2 separate regions of the Homo sapiens genome follow, and region 2 is linked to region 1. Evidence: promoter capture Hi-C in human tissues and cell types (Jung and others, 2019). All regions are on one chromosome and are shown on one strand. The core of a region is centred on a gene start or on the middle of the fragment in contact, and the rest is flanking DNA. Distances in the headings are between cores, read along the strand shown.

The links. Contacts are between HindIII fragments. The study calls those that stand out against the background at their distance.
Region 2: a fragment that was not itself captured here is called in contact with the fragment with the promoter of TUBA1A in region 1 in 4 of the 25 tissues and cell types used here (bladder, heart right ventricle, mesenchymal stem cells and 1 more).

Annotation. Positions count from the first base shown.
Region 1 is chr12:49,187,782-49,190,481 of GRCh38, reverse strand. It overlaps TUBA1A (tubulin alpha 1a), which reads left to right and starts at 1,402. Exons shown (of 4, transcript NM_006009.4): 1 at 1,402-1,505. The coding sequence starts at 1,503. RefSeq lists enhancers at 1,514-1,633, 1,132-1,723. The HindIII fragment of the contact is 17,236 bases long and covers 1-2,700 here.
Region 2 is chr12:49,252,144-49,254,844 of GRCh38, reverse strand. It overlaps a transcript of TUBA1C not described here. Among named protein-coding and RNA genes, the nearest start is that of TUBA1C, 12 kb to the left of the region's middle. The HindIII fragment of the contact is 5,325 bases long and covers 1-2,701 here.

The DNA.
Region 1 (2,700 bases), core at 153-2,652:
AAAATTATTTGTAAAAAATAAATTTTCAACTTTAGTGGCCAAACTTATTTACCTCTGAAATTTCATCACCAACATCCAGTGGTACGAAGTCCAGTGACTTACTCCGGATCGTTGCTGAGAATGGAGGCTTCCTAAATATCAAGATAATTTTACTCCAATTTATTTCCTAGGGGTGAAAGCAAAGCCTTTTTGTCCCAAGGGACAACTGAGCAACCACCAGAGTCTCTAGCTGAACAGCAAGGGTGTGAGGCCGGCTAAAATTCCCACAGTTAGAAGCCCACTCGCAGGAGGATATTTACCAAATTGACATAAGAACTACATAAAAAGGAAATGCGTTTATTGAGCTGATGTTTCACAGTTGTCTGTGGATGGAGGCGACATTGCAAAATTCTTTTTACATTATATTATTCTCTTCTTCTTTTTAATTTGGTGTATTGGTTATTACTATTATTTTGCTTGTTACTTTCCAGACAAAAGTCCAATTCAGATATGTAACTGCACACATGTAGTACTAACTTCTGAGCTCAATTATTTCTCCTTGTATTTTCCCAATTTTCTATCAGGAAAGATGATTCATTCCAAAGGACAATGTACCATACAAAATGTGTTACATAGACTTCTCATAAAAGAATACCTCTAGTAAACCATTATAACTACTCTACGTTCACTTGCTCTTGATTATTGCCATGTTAGAACTATTTGTTCGCTTCTTTATTTAATATGGTTATTCTTTCCATCTTCCAGTTTTGTTTAGCTATTCGGGTGTGCGTGTGCCTGCAGAAGAAGCTCTGAAAATAAGTTAGTTGAACCTGAGAAACCATTTGGAATGACCGTATGGCTAAATCTTTTTTTAAATTAAAAAAATCACATATACCCAGGCCATTTCGAGCATCATGCCGATTTTCCCTCCCACTTTACGTTTAAAGCAATTAGAGATGTTGAACCCTAACAAAATGTAGTCGAGTTTAATATACTACGAGGGAGGGGCTGGCAGTCATTTTCCTTTAAATATTTAATCTAAACATAAATTGTTATTAAGGGTAGGGGGAAAAAACCTCACATAGATAATTTTAACTGCAGTTTGAGGTTTAAGCAACAGAAAGTCTTCTAACCCCAGTCCCCTTTCTTCTCCTTCCGCCCCTCCCCAACCCCGCCCCATAATGGATGCTCGGCCGACTGCTTCTGCACGGTCTCTTTGTCTAAAGGATGCAAACAGTCTACGGATGCTAGAGAAAAAGGGGTGGGGGAGAGATTACCTCATCCCACGTCGCTTGCACCAATCACCAGTCTCCTGTCATGGCTTCTCTGGGCAGATTGGGGGTCTGGACCAACAGGAAAAGGCCCCGGCCCATCCCCATGGTGACCGAGTTGTATATAGGGAGCCGCATCCGCCTATGTGCCGCAGGTTCTCTTACATCGACCGCCTAAGAGTCGCGCTGTAAGAAGCAACAACCTCTCCTCTTCGTCTCCGCCATCAGCTCGGCAGTCGCGAAGCAGCAACCATGGTGAGAATCGGCTTCGGCTCTTTGTGGCCGTTGGGTGGAGTCAGCGCCCCCAGGCTCTACTTGGAAAACCTTTAAGCTCTTTTCTTTCGTAAGCTCTCTGGGCGAGGGTGGTGGTATGTTTTGTGAGGTTTAGCTTAGCCCCAAATCCTCAAGCCCCGCCGCCGCCGCAGTGCGGGTGCAGGAACCGGGCCAGTACTGCGCCCAGGGCGCAGCAGAGCGCTGGGGAGGAACAAAGGCGGCGCCTAGGCGCCTGTGTTATCCGAGAGACTTTCGGGGGCCGCGGGCAGCCCGTCTGCCGCGACCGAGGGGTCTGGGGCGTCCCGGCTGGGCCCCGTGTCTGTGCGCACGGTTTCGCTGATGCTGAGGGGCCACTTTCTGTCTCGCGTTGTTCTCTGGGGACCGGGAGAGGAGGAGGCACCCAAAAAGAGCGGGGGCGTTGGGCGAGCTGGGGGACGTGGGAGGGGGAACGGGAACAAAGCGCAGCCTAGGGTTAGCGTGGGAAGACCCTCCGCGGTCTTTGGCGTTTTGGAAAGATACCCACACATTCCCGGGAAAACATGGTGAGTTTCTGCCGGAGCCCCCGGCAGCGGGTGTCAGGGCGGCGCAGGGGCGGGGTTGTTTGTTTCTGGCTTCTATGGCGTTGGAGCCACTGGGCGGGGTTCGCCCTCACTGAACCTCTTCTGTCAGGAGCTGACTGAAAAAAAAACAAAAAAACCTTTCATCATTGCGGAACTGTAGGCTCCAAAAGGGTTTTCTTCACTATTATAAGTTAGATGACTTTTTTTTTTCTTGAGCAAAATCATAATTCACTTCACAAGCTCTTTAATGTCTGGTCTGGGGACGCCCTGCCCTGACCGACTGAAGTGTGTGTGTGTGTGTGTGTGTGTGTGTGTGTGTGTCTGTGGGACGCCCTGCCCTGACCGACTGAAGTGTGTGTGTGTGTGTGTGTGTGTCTGTCTGTCTGTCTGGACTGCACGTTCAGCGAGGGAGAAAGCCCACTTTGTGAGCCCCAGGGTACCCTGATGGTCAGGACCCAGGGAAACGCCCTTCCCCGCCGCCCCCCCGCCCCGCCCCCACCACATCAGCGAATAGACAATGAAAGTGGTAGCCCTAAAGACCACAGAGAAGAAAACCTCTATTGGATGCAAAGAATATGAATATTATGTGATGGGTAGAGAATCTCAGGATGAAAATA
Region 2 (2,701 bases), core at 109-2,608, 64 kb before region 1:
GGTGTCTTGCTGGATAGCTTCAGGATAGGGTCTGGTCACCAGAAAGACAAAGTCATGACTAGAAGCTTGAAAATTTAGCCACATCCCCCATCCTCCAGGGAGGGGAGAAGGACTAGGGATTGAGTTAAAAACTGATCATGCCTACGTGATGAAGCCTCCATAAAAATCCCTAAACTACCGGGTTCCCAGAGTTCCAAACTGGTAAACAAGAACATATCCACTTGCAGGAGGGTTGTGCACCCCAGCTCCACTACACTCAAAGGACAGAAGCTGCTGCACTCAGGAGCCTTCCATACCTCACCCTATATATATCCTCATTTGACAATTCATTTCCCGTTTTTTTTTTTTTTTTTTTTTTTTGTTTAGATGGAGCCTCGCTCTGTTGCCCAGGCTGGAGTGCAGTGGCATGATCTCGGTTCAATGATGCAGCTTCCACTTCCCAAGTTCAAGTGATTCTCTGCCTCAGCCTCCTGAGTAGCTGGGATTACAGGCGTGCACCACGACACTCGGCTAATTTTTTCTTTTCTCTTCTTGAGATGGAGTTTCACTCTTGTTGCCCAGGCTAGAGTGCAATGGCATGATCTTGGCTCACCGCAACCTCCAGCTCCCGGGTTCAAGCGATTCTCCTGCCTCAGCCTCCCGAGTAGCTGGGATTACAGGCATGCGCCACCACGCCCGGCTAATTTGGTATTTTTAGTAGAGACGGGGTTTCTCCGTGTTGGTCAGGCTGGTCTCGAAATCCCGACCTCAGGTGATCCGCCTGCCTCGGCCTCCCAAACTGCTGGGATTACAGGCGTAAGTCACCGCACCCGGCTCCCCTTCCTGCTTTTATCCTGTCTTCTATCTCTGTAGGGCTCCCCGTCCCTGATTTTATTAATACTAGTCCTATCCACCTGTGCCCCAGTTCTGTATTCCTGCTCACAGTCTCTGGGATCTTGCTTCATAATTTAACCCTTTTTCTTGACCCTTCACTTTCTTTTGTTTAGACAAATTGGGACTGAACTCTAGTTTCAGTACCAGTTTGAGTTACTGTTCAAATAAAATTATAGGCCACTTTGGGAGGCAGAAGCAGGAAGATCGCTTGAGTCCAGGAATTCAAGACCAGCTTGGACGACATAGTGAGACCCTGTCCCTACAAAAAAATTTAAAATTAGCATGGTGTGGTGGTACATGCCTGTAGTCCCAGCTACTGGGGAGGCTGAGGTGGGAGGATCGCTTGAGCCCAAGAGCTCAAGTTAGCCATGTTGGTGCCACTGCACTCCAGCCTGGGCAAGAGTGAAACCCTCTCTCAAAAATAAAATGAGTATCCCCTCCCCACGCCCCCTCCCTTCATGATTTCAATTTTAAGCATCCCACCGTCCAACCACAACCTCCCACTTTTTAGCTCTACGAAACCAGTACCCACAACCCTTCTACCTAACTGGGACTTACAAGACATTGACACGCCCACGTGTGCACTGTCCTCTATTCCGCTACATCCTCAGGTCTCCTTCCATAGCTTCCACCGTAGCTTACACCTACCAACTCTCATGCTTTATTTTCTTGTTTGTGCTCACTTAGCAAAACCGAATAACCTGATTAAATCTAACTCTGCCTACTCCATGCCTGCAGGCATGGCTGTGGTATGCCGAGAGTTCCATTTAAAGTTCATGACTACTAACCTCCAGCGGGTTTATATTGCTCAGCAGTCATCCGGAATTTCCCTTAATTTTTCACTTTCCCACTCTCCTGAAAGTCTTTTTTTTTTTTTTTTTTTTTAAGATAGGGTCTGGCTCTGCTACCCAGGCTGGAGTGCAGTGGTGCTGCAATCTTGGCTCACTGCAACCTCCACCTCCCGGGTTCAAGGAATTCTCCTGCCTCAGCCTCCCCAAGTGGCTGGGATTACAGAGGCCTACCACACTTGACTAATTTTTGTTTTTGTTTCTGTTTTGTGATGGAGTCTCCCTCTTGTTGCCCCAGGCTGGAGTGCAATGGCATGATCTCGGCTCACCGCAACCTCCGCCTCCCGGGTTCAAGTGATTCTCCTGCCTCAGCCTCCCGAGTAGCTGGGACTACAGGCGCCCGCCACCATGCCTGGCTAATCTTTTGTATTTTTTCAGTAGAGACGGGGTTTCACCATGTTAGTGAGGATGGTCTCGATCTCCTGACCTCGTGATCCACCCGCCTCGGCCTCCCAAAGTGCTGGGATTACAGGTGTGAGCCACCGTGCCCAGCCAATTTTTGTATTTTTAGTAGAGATGGGGTTTCGCCATGTTGGCCAGGCTCTAAAAGTCTTTTTGTAATATCTTCTTCACTGCCCTCAACTTCCCCCAAAGCTTCTCCCTATTCTCACTCTCAGTTCATGACTTTTCACCCTTATTCACTGAGAAAATAGAAGCAGTCAGAAAAGAATGTCCACAAGCCCCTACTGCTATGTCTTCCATGTTAAAATATAATTTTGAAAAAGTTAAGATTATGACTGTCATACAAATATAGAATAAACATCAAGTTTTATTAACTAAAGGAAGCAGTAAAATGGTCAAGCTGGTGAAAAGAGCACTTGAAGAGCAGGAATTTACATATTTTATTAGGAAAGACACTTAAAATTTTATTAGAATAAAATTTATAGATAGATACAAAACTGGTTAATGCCTTACAGAGCAAAAACATCCTAACCTGTGCATCTGGTTTCTGCCACCTAGCATCATATTCTGGAGTTTAA